Regions from separate parts of the Homo sapiens genome. Here region 1 is linked to region 2. The links are contacts of gene promoters, found by promoter capture Hi-C in blood cells and fetal thymus (Javierre and others, 2016). All regions are on one chromosome and are shown on one strand. The core of a region is centred on a gene start or on the middle of the fragment in contact, and the rest is flanking DNA. Distances in the headings are between cores, read along the strand shown. Region 1 overlaps LOC105374455 (a long non-coding RNA gene). Region 2 holds the start of SLC30A6 (solute carrier family 30 member 6).

Region 1 (4,988 bases), core at 1,895-4,394, 1.4 Mb after region 2:
GCTGCAGTAGCTTTATTTCAGGGTTAGGGATGAGCCAACTTTCCGCAGACTATGGATGTTCAGAAAGTTGGGTCGTTTTCCCTCATGCATTCTCTACCTGATGTCTAAAGCCCTTCCCAGACACTAAGCATGTTATTTTAAGGAGAAGGGGAGCTTCACTCCATAGCAAATAGAATAGAATATTTTTAAATCCACGTAGTTTAGACAGTGAATAAACTTTTTGGCTGTACTGTCATTACTTTTGACATTATTTGCCCGGGTGAAACATTGAGTTCACGATGTGGATGTGTTGTGATATCTTGGCAGTTACTGAGGGTGTGTTTAGAAATTACTGAAAAATCAGAAATGTTTTCAAAGTGATGGCATATTTAGAAAACTATATTTAACCATAAGTTGGCGTACTGTTAAATCGTGTAGGCATTTAATTAAAGAGTTTTCATATTGATACCTGTTGATTTTATTCTATAGTTCTCAAGCATTTTTGTGTCTGATGGATAGATGTTCCTATCCTTAGTAGTACCTTTTTCTTTTCTTTCTTTTTTTTTTTTTTTTTTTATGAGACGGAGTCTTGCTCTGTCGCTCAGGCTGGAGTGCAGTGGTGCGATCTCGGCTCACTGCAAGCTCCGCCTCCCGGGTTCACGCCATTATTCTGCCTCAGCCTCCCAAGTAGCTGGGACCACAGGCGTTCACCACCACACCCAGCTAATTTTTTGTATTTTTAGTAGAGACGGGGTTTCACCATGTTAGCCAGGATGGTCTCGATCTCCTGACCTTGTGGTCCGCCCACCTTGGCCTCCCAAAGTGCTGGGATTACAGGCGTGAGCCACCGCGCCCGGCCAGTAGTACCTTTTTCAGTTTCCTTATTTTGCATCATCTGAAGTGGGGGTAGGTTTTCTGCACTTACCATGGGCACTTGATATGGCCCATTATGATGCAGTCACCATAAGGCTGTGTGAATATTAGTCACATTCTACAGATGAGGACACTAAGGCTGAGTGGCTTAATAATCTTCAGCGATCTTAATGCCTGTAAGTATGAAACTAGATTTTGAGATTGAGGTATATCTAAATCCATATTCCTTCTTTTTTGACTAGTCAAATAAGGATTTATACGCAGGATGTGAAAAGAGGAAAATTTAGCTAGTTGAATTTGTTTAAACTTGTATATATTGTACATAATTACCTTATAATAATTGAATAATTATTTTCCTCATAGGGTTGTTGAAGGTGCTAAACAAAAAGTCATGCCTAATACAAAAATCAATTTTGAAAGAAAAAGGGTTTCATTCTTGACTCACTTTTGATGTAAGCTGTGTTCAATATTGAACTAATATTGAATATAATATTGTGTTCAATATTAGTGAATGAACGAGTGATGACTTCCCTAAAAGTATTAGTATTCCCTTTCTTTCTTTAAAAAAAATCCAGCTTTTGCAGGAATAGTATTCTCTTTCTAATTCACATCGTTAGCTTAAATGAAGGATTGCTGATATGAAATTTTTATATATTATGGTTTAAAGGAATTCTACAATGGCTTTCTCTGCAATTAAAAAAAGCTTTTAAATACTACTTAAACAAAATTGTGTTCCCTACCAGGCAGGCTCAGAAAGAAAGAAAAAAAATTGTCATCATTTTAATGGGATCTACGAGGAATCTTTTGCATTTTATTTAGAAATTATTTATGTTTATAATGGAACCTGATATCTGAAGACCTCTTTGAAACTGAGTTTACTAGAATGAAAGGAACAATGATTTGGAAGTGAGGAAGCTCTGGTTTTTGCATCAGATCAGTATAAGAAAGAATTTTTCTAACACTCTAAGAGTAGTCTTAAAGTGACTTAGGTATCGTTGAGAGATGATGAGCTTCCTGTCTAGAAGGTGTTCACCTAGAGGCTGAATAATTACTTAAGGGTACTCTTGTGAGAAGGCACACCCACAAGTGCCAGCACATGCCCTTTTACTGATGACTTTGATTCTAGATTCTTTCTCAAAAAAGAATATAAAATACCAACTTAAAACCCTTCTAGGGTCTGGCGCGGTAGTTCAGACCTGCAATCCCAGCACTTTGGGAGGCTGAGGCAGGACGATTACTTGAAGCCAGGGGTTCAAGGCCAGCTTGAGCAACATAGCAAGACTCTGTCTCTGTTAAAAAAAAAAAAATTAATTAAAAATGACTTCCAGGTGGGACCCAAGTGAGGCAGAGGGGCAGGGGCTGGCAGACCAGCGGTAAGCATGGCATATCAGGGCCTCACCATACGTCTCATTGCAATGAGCGTGTTTTAGGGCTTCACTGGTTTCTTCATGCCTTGGTTCATCCCTAAGGGTCCTAAGTAGGGAGTTATCATTACCATGTAGGTGACCTGTTCAGTTTGTTGCTGTCTCTTTTGGCTGATTGCAATCCTGGCCAACTCAACCCTCTCTTCAGACTGCAGTTGAAACATGAAATCATCTGGTATCCGAAGTGTCATTGGCCTTGAGGAAGACAGGCTTTACAGTGCTCAGTCTTAGCAGTCATGAGAAAAGAATTCCTTCTAGATGCAAAATCCAAACCACACCACTTTTCTTGACTTGCTTATTTTGGGCATCAGCTGCCTTAAACATTCACACCACATTTGAATGTCTAACACAATGCAGCATTTTTTTCTTCAACTTTTTTATGCTTTAATGAATTATGTGCCTACTTAACCTAAACTGTGCCAACTCCTCAAAATGATAATGCACTCTTTTGAGAGAGAAGATGCTTTTCTTCTGAGAAATGTGTTATTATGTCCTTGGAATTTGTGGATTTGTAGTGGCTCCTGCCTTCTCATAACATGGGAATCAGTGAACTATTTAGAACGTACTACTGCCTGACAAGACTCCAGTGGGGCAGTCAGTAGGAGAGGACGTTCAGAGGAAAGAGCTCTCCCAACAGAATTACACCAAATTATGTGTTCTTTTTTTTTTCTTTCTTCCTTTTTAAACAGAGTTTTGCTCTGTCGCTCCCGCTGAAGTGCAGTGGTGATCTCGTAGCCTCAACCTCCTGGGCTCAAGTGATCCTCCTGCCTCAGCCTCCCAAGTAGCTGGGACTGCAGCCGCTGGCCACCATGCCTGGCTAAGTTTTTTTATTTTTTGGTAGAGACGGTTTTGCCATGTTGCCCAGGCTGGTCTCAAAATCTTGGGCTCAAGCAATCCGCCCACCTTGGCCACTGCACCCCGTCATGAGCCACCACATCCGGCCCAAGGTATATTTTCAGCATGAATTTCTCATTTCTGCCATCTTTTGGAATAAATCATTTTTCTGTTTTCTATAGATAAAATAAAATATAAAATAAAGCTATTCTAGTGTCCCATCTTTGAGGGAGTCTGGTTACTGTCCATATTCTTAACTGCTGCTGCTACAGATTACCACAAATTTAGAGGCTTAAAACAAGACAGATTTATTATCTTACAGCTCTGGAGGTCAGACACCTGAAATGGATCTCACCTGGCAAAAATGGGCAGGTTTGCATTTCTTCTGGAATCTCTAGGAGAGAATCTGTTTTCTTCCCTGTTTTGGTTTCTAGAGGCCACCCACCTTCCTTGGCTTATGACTCCCCTCCTTCATCAAGACCAGCAACACCACTCCGACCCCTGCTACATGGTAGTCATGCCCTCTTACCTTCCTGCCTCCCTCTTTTACTTATAAGGACCCCCATCCTTGTGCCAGATAATCCAGAATAATCTCCCAACCTTAAGATCTTCAATTTAACCACACCTGCAAAGTCCCTTTTTCCATAGTCTCATGTTCCAACGATTATGATGCAGATAGTTTTCGGGGGAGGGGGGTCCATACCACACTGCCTTTCCTGGAGAGTAGAAACAATGAATGATCTTAAAGATCAGCCTTTTCTAGCTCTTCTTGAAGAGAATAAAGACAAATTATTTTTTTCACTTGTGAAAGAAATGTAAATGGGAAAATTGAAAACTGATTTCAGTTTCCAGAGGAACATGTTTTATAAGTCATAACCTTAAAAATTATTAGAAGGTTTTTAATTATATAGTAATTAAAAATTTATGCAGCTGACATCTTTAAGAAAGTTACTTCTAGCATCTATAGAAGTAATTTTTTATCATGGAAAAGAGGTAGGTATAAGCTCAAATATAAGATTTGTCATGGATTGGTTTCTAAGAGGTGATTAAATAGGCATCTAAAACAAATAACTTTTCTATCAAAAATAAAAGAACACTGTCTGAAAAATAGCAGCATTTTCCATTTTTAGTGAATTTATCTTTAGAATGACCCTCCAGCAAGGAGAAAATAGAAAGACCATAGATTTACTGGTGTTGCTCAGAAATGCAAGTTTGTATATGTTGCTAAATAAAGTCCTTTTCAGCTTGCACAGTGAAAGCACAACTCTTTTTTTTTTTAAGTTAGCATGTAGAATTAAATCTTGTATGGTCTCAAATACTTTATATTACTAAAGAATGCTGTTTTTTCAAATCATTCCTCTGGCTATGTTAGTATAGTTTCTGAGCCCTGGCAATTTTTAGAGAATATTACAAAGTTTGAGAACAACATCTTGCCTGTGTTTAAACTAAACAAAGGAAGTGCTATGTGTGTGAATGTACGTGTGTATATATATATATATATATATATTCACACACACACATTCACACACACAAATGTGTATATATATACAAAAACACACACAGAGATATATCCAGATCTTTCCAGAATAAAAGCTCCAAATTTGATTTCTGTTGTTCTCCCAACAAAGCTTCAGCCTAGTTGCCATGTTCTGCAATCAGGCACACAGTGAACCAGATAGAAACCCATCTAATTTGGATGCAGTAAGAGCTTATTAGACTGTAGCCTAGAGGTAATAAACTAGCCTTCACACCAGACCAAGCGTTGTATTTTGTTTGGCCTGTTTAATAAGTTAAAGAACTGAGCTTACATTTAAAAGTTTGGAGATTTTATTTTAAAAATCTGAGTGTCTGGCTTTTCTGGGGCGAAAACGTCTGCTG
Region 2 (5,523 bases), core at 14-2,513:
ATGTTCAGCAACCCTAATCCAACCATCTGAAATTAAAATGCTCCAAAATCAAAACTTTTTGATCATCAACACGATGCCACAGTGGAAAATTCCACACCTGACCGCATGTAAAAAGCTGTAGTCAAAATTTTGTTTGATACACACACAATTTTTAAAATTGCATAAAATTACCCTGAGGCTATGTGCATAAGGTGTATACGAAACATAAATGAATTTCAAGTTTAGCCTCTGGCCCCATCCCCAAGATAAAGAGCCACAATCTGAAACAGTTCTGGTCTTAAGCATTTGGGATGAAGGATACTCAACCTATACCCAGTTTTCTACACGACACTACTTATGAATATCTTTTAAAAATTTCTTTATCCCTACTTGTTTTCTGTCTTCCCTACCAGAATATAATTTTCACGAGACCAGTATCTGACAAACACACGTGCTACATATTCAATCTTTATCGAATGAATTTAATATTTTCCAAGTTTTCTATAATTAACATTACTTCTATATTATTAATTTTATAGAGAATCCAAATAGCATTTTATTAAGTAGACCATTAGTCGGTCCGAGTTCAAATTCTGCTACTACAGCAAACTATATGTAGGACTCAAGGCAAGTTTCTTTTTTTTGAGACGGAGTCTCGCGCTGTCGCCCAGGCTGGAGTGTAGTGGCGCGATCTCGGCTCACTGCAACCTCCGCCTCCTAGGTTCAAGCGATTCTCCTGCCTCAGCCTCCAGAGTAGCTGGGATTACAGGCGCGTGCCACTACGCCCGGCTAATTTTTGCATTTTTAGTAGAGCCGGGGTTTCACCATGTTGGCCAGGCTGGTCTCGAACTCCTGACCTCAAGTGATCCGCCTGCCTCGCCGCCGAAAGTGCTGGGATTACAGGAGTGAACCACCACGCCTGGCGGAGGCAAGTTTCTTAATCTTCTTTCCTCACTTGTAAAACTGGAATACTGTCCATTTTCATAAGGTTAAATCATACAACACAGGTAAAAGCGCTTCAGCACGCAACGAAATTTTTCTAACGTAACGAAAAACTCCTCGTTGCTCCTTGCCTTGCCCTTAACCTCAACGCTTCAGGTCCCGACCAATCTCTCGGAGAGCTCAGAGGGAGCCGCTCTAGCCGCCTTCCGCCACGGAGTGCAGGGACAGCCGGGAAGGGGACGGAAGCCGGAGGCCAGAGCACGCACTTCCTCCCACGCTTTCCTCACAGCCAATCGCCCACTGGTGCCCCACCCCTTCCGTTCTGGGAAAACTCGAGCACCCAGAACGGCTTCCGGCGGGAGCTGTGCAGCTCCTTATCATGGTGAGTTGGCTGTTGGGGTGAGGGTTTCGGCTGTAGCTGATTCGGTTTATCTTATTTGGTCCCGAAGCGACCTTGAAATCCCTCAGCCACCCAGAGGAGGGGTCATTGGAGTTGAAGTCGGGCCCCTTGGCAGGAGCGGCTGTCTCCCAAAATGTTCCCCTTCAGAGTTCTGGTCCCTTTCGGTCCCTCACCTGTTCCGCAGGCGCTCACGATCTAGGCCCCGCTGCAGGCAGAGCTTTCAGCTCCTGGCGAGTTTCTGACTTCCCTCTGCCGAGATTTCTTTAAGGTAATAAAAGTTTTTGCCAGCGTCAACAACTAGGCCACCAACAAAAGATCTGAAAACAAGTCCACAGCAACAACTGTAATAGTGATTCTTAGAGCAGTGGCGATAACGCCAGCGGAAAAAAAAAAAAAAGGTTAGTAATAGGGTTTTAGGGCAGACGTCTCACTCTGCAACTTGGCTTTACTAAATATTAAGTAGCCTGATTACGGCAGCAAATTTCATAAGCGCAGTAACTACAGAAAGTCAAGGTGTTGGTAGGACATTTTATTGCTGCTTTATTTCTGGGTTTGTAGAAACTAATGGAAGACCCAGTAGACGTTATGGTTGTTGGGATATGGTGTTTTCTCTCAAATTTGTTAGAATTAGTCATTCTTTGCCTTTAGAGCTCAAATATATAGCTCTGAACTTTAAAGATAAGCAGTTGGTTGGGATTTGAAGTGTCCAAGTGGCGTGTGCCTTTTGAAAATGCATTTATTAGAAAAATTTATGGAGTACTTATTGATAGCCTACGTATGAGAAAGAGACCACATTTCTGTGCCTAAGCTTTTGTCACTGTACTAAGTTTTTTACTTAAGTGGATATGGTCGGGAAAATGCCTCATTCACACACTTTATGTTTTGTAAATTTTCTGTAATCCTTTTGCACACAGAAAATGGGTAAAAGTTTACACTTTTTGGCTAATGATCAAATAGCCTTCAGTTACGCTCTTCTTCAAAACATTCACCATTGTGAAGCCTGTAGCCAGAGTTATATTTCTAAAATTTGACCACATCACTCCCTTACTCAAATTTTCTCCTTTTTTTTTTTTCTGTAGCACTCAAGATAAAGTCCTGTTTAGCATGGCATACAAAGCCACTCATTATCAAGCTTCTTACTTTTACAGCCTCTTTTTTTGTTGTTGTTTTCGAGACGGAGTTCCACTCTTGTTGCCCAGGCTGGAGTGCAATGGCGCGATCGCGGCTCACCACAACTTCCGCCTCCCGGGTTCAAGCGATTCTCCTGCCTCACCTTCCCGAGCAGCTGGGATTACAGGAATGCGCCACCACGCCTGGCTAATTTTGTATTTTTAGTAGAGACGGGGTTTCTCCATGTTGGTCAGGCTGATCGCGAACTCCTGACCTCAGGTGATCCTCCCGCCTCTGCCTCCCAAAGTGCTGGGATTACAGGCGTGAGCCACCGTGCCAGGCCACAAACTCTTTTTTTTTTTTTTTTTTTAATGCATACATGTATGCAACATCCGTATTTCAGCCACAGTGAATAGCTTGCAAATCATGCTGTATTAATTGAGCCTTTGTACCTAATTTGCATATGCTCTTCCATCCCCAGAATTGTTCTCTGTTCTCTATCGGCTGTCCTTATCAGAATAACCCTTATATATCCTTAATTATTTTTCATGAACCTTTCCCTCATGTTCCAGTATCCTCTTAGTTGCTTCTCCTTTGTGCTCTGGTGGTACCTTGTGCTTTTATATGCACAAACACACACACACACACACCAGTTTTGTTACATAAAGCTGCACAAAACGAATACATACAATAGAAACTTAACTTGCCTATAATACTGATGATTTGAAGGGAGTTGAAGATAAAGGGATAAGAGACTTAAAATTCAGAGGTCTTTCAGATTATACACCTTCATTAACTCACAGCCCTAATTTAAGAAAGTAAAACTTGAATCTCTTGTGTTTTTTACCAGTAACATCTGTAATCCTTACAGACGATGTTAAAGTTGTGTACTTATTTGTCTTTCTCACTTTCTAGACTGTAAGCTCATTGAGAGCAGGACCTATGTATTTCACCCTAATTCCCAGAGCTTTGTAGCGTGCCTGGCCCAGAGGAAGTTTTCAATAAACATCTGTTTTATAAGACACTGAAAACTTATGGCACTATATCTTTATGCTTGAAACATTAGTATTAGTCATGCAGGGAAACAGTATTTAAGGTTTATTTTAAAGGATATTGAGAAAAGGTTTTGCGTTTATTAAGAACATGCTATGTGAAAACAGTACTTTCTTAGAAAATATAAAGAAAAATACAAATAAAACGTCTGTTTTATAAAGCACTGAAAACCTATGGCACTATATCTTTATGCTTGAAACATCAGTATTAGTCATGCAGGGAAACAGTATTTAAGGTTTATTTTTTAAAATAAATATTTTAAAATAAAATATTGAGAAAAAGGTTTTGTGTTTATTAACATGCTGTGTGAAAACAGTGCCTTCTTAGAAAATATAAATAATATAAATATATAATATTAAAAATATAAGTATATAAAAACAAAATATAAAGGAAAATAGCCCTTGTCATTAGTGAAGTTACTAAAATTACAAAGCAATGTAACAAGTTGAAGGCTTTACTTTGGTTAATGCAAAATAAGTGGCATAAAAAACACTATAGTTTGGAATGATCTAGGAAGACTTCATTTAAGAAGTGAAACATGAAACTAAGTACTTTGTGCCCCACTCTAATACTCTTAATCTAATACTTGTTTGTCATTATATGAATAAGAGCTTGGGTTAGACAGATCTGGCCTTTTCACGCAAGAGTGGTCATGAGACAAAAGAGTAGACCAGTTTAACTGAAGTTGAGGGTTTCTATCTGGAGTAAGAGATAAGACTGGAAAGAAACAGGCTAAGTCATTGAAAACCTGGAAATTCAGGTTGTAAAATTTGTAGTTTATTCTGATAGCAATGGCGAGCCAATATAATTTTGGGAAGAGTGATATGACATTAGGATTTTTGTTTTATTTTCATTGTCAGGATGGCATCAGAAGTGGCTTTCTGCCTCTTAGAAACCTTGTTGATTCTCTTAACCTGAAACTTAAAGTTGGCTAGGGTTAAACAGAAGATGTCCAAAATAACAGTATTAAGGAGAATTTTTTAAATCTTTGGAACCAAAATAACTCACACATAATTCTTTAAGAAAAGAATATATATACATATGTACATACACATATATATAATATTTATACATATGTACATTTATTTATGTATTTATTTATTTATTTCGAGATGGGGTCTCGCTCTGTTGCCCAGGCTTGAGTAAAGTGTGAACCTGGCTCACTGCTTGACTTCCCGGGCTCATGCGATCCTTCCACCTTGGTGTCCTGAGTAGCTGGGACTACAGGCATGTACCACTATGCCTGGCTAATTTTTTTCTTTTCAATTTTTTTGTAGAGACAGGGTCTCAGTATATTTCCTAGGCTGGTCTTGAACTCCTGGGCTCAACTGATCCTCCTGACTCAGTCACCCAAAGTGGTGGAATTACAGGCATGAGCCACCATGGCCAGCCAAGAAAAAGATATATTTATTGGCTGGGTGCGGTGGCTCACGCCTGTAATCCCAGCACTTTGGGAGGCCAAGGCGGGCGGATCACGAGGTCAGGAGATCAAGACCATCCTGGCTAACACGGTGAAACCCCGTCTCTACTAAAGGTAAAAAAAAATTAGCCGGGCGTGGTGGTGGGTACCTGTAGTCCCAGCTACTCCTTCACCGCAGAATGGGGCTGCGACAGAGTGAATATCCTGTTTGCCGTGTAGCCTATATTTAAAATCAGACTGTCCTCCTCAAAAGCAGCTGGAACTGAGGTTCAAGAGATGGATGTGACTGTGTATAGGGAGAGGCATACCATTTTTATTTTTAAAGTATCAAGAGAAATCATGATTTCACATTAACAATACAAAGTTGCAAAAGCAAATGTGAATAATGAGCAGGTACTGATTTGGCCAGCTTTATAAATGTGTAACTTTTAAAACTGGGTTATTCATCTTTTTAAAAATAGTTTGTGGAAGCTCATTGTGTATAGAGAAAATTGGCCTATTGTCTGTTGTGAATTATAGTTTTTTTTCAGTTTGACCTTCTTAAAGTTTTTTTCCCCCTTAAGGGTATTACATTCGCCCATGAAATTATATAGTAAAATCAATCAATTTTTTTCCTTTA

Evidence for each region. The method cuts DNA at HindIII sites, captures the fragments that hold promoters and counts their contacts. A CHiCAGO score of 5 or more calls a contact.
Region 1: a fragment that was not itself captured here is called in contact with the fragment with the promoter of SLC30A6 in region 2 in 1 of 17 cell types (non-activated CD4 T cells); the score reaches 6.8 in non-activated CD4 T cells.

The regions. Positions count from the first base shown.
Region 1 is chr2:33,599,811-33,604,798 of GRCh38, forward strand. It overlaps LOC105374455 (a long non-coding RNA gene), which reads left to right. Exons shown (of 3, transcript XR_939942.3): 1 at 1-1,028. It also overlaps the pseudogene ATP6V0E1P3. Among named protein-coding and RNA genes, the nearest start is that of FAM98A, 3.0 kb to the left of the region's middle. RefSeq lists an enhancer at 1-2. The HindIII fragment of the contact is 3,183 bases long and covers 1,554-4,736 here.
Region 2 is chr2:32,164,601-32,170,123 of GRCh38, forward strand. It overlaps SLC30A6 (solute carrier family 30 member 6), which reads left to right and starts at 1,264. Exons shown (of 14, transcript NM_017964.5): 1 at 1,264-1,303. The coding sequence starts at 1,301. It overlaps SLC30A6-DT (SLC30A6 divergent transcript), which reads right to left and starts at 1,139. Exons shown (of 1, transcript NR_185886.1): 1 at 441-1,139. RefSeq lists an enhancer at 2,584-3,100. The HindIII fragment of the contact is 4,145 bases long and covers 1-2,127 here.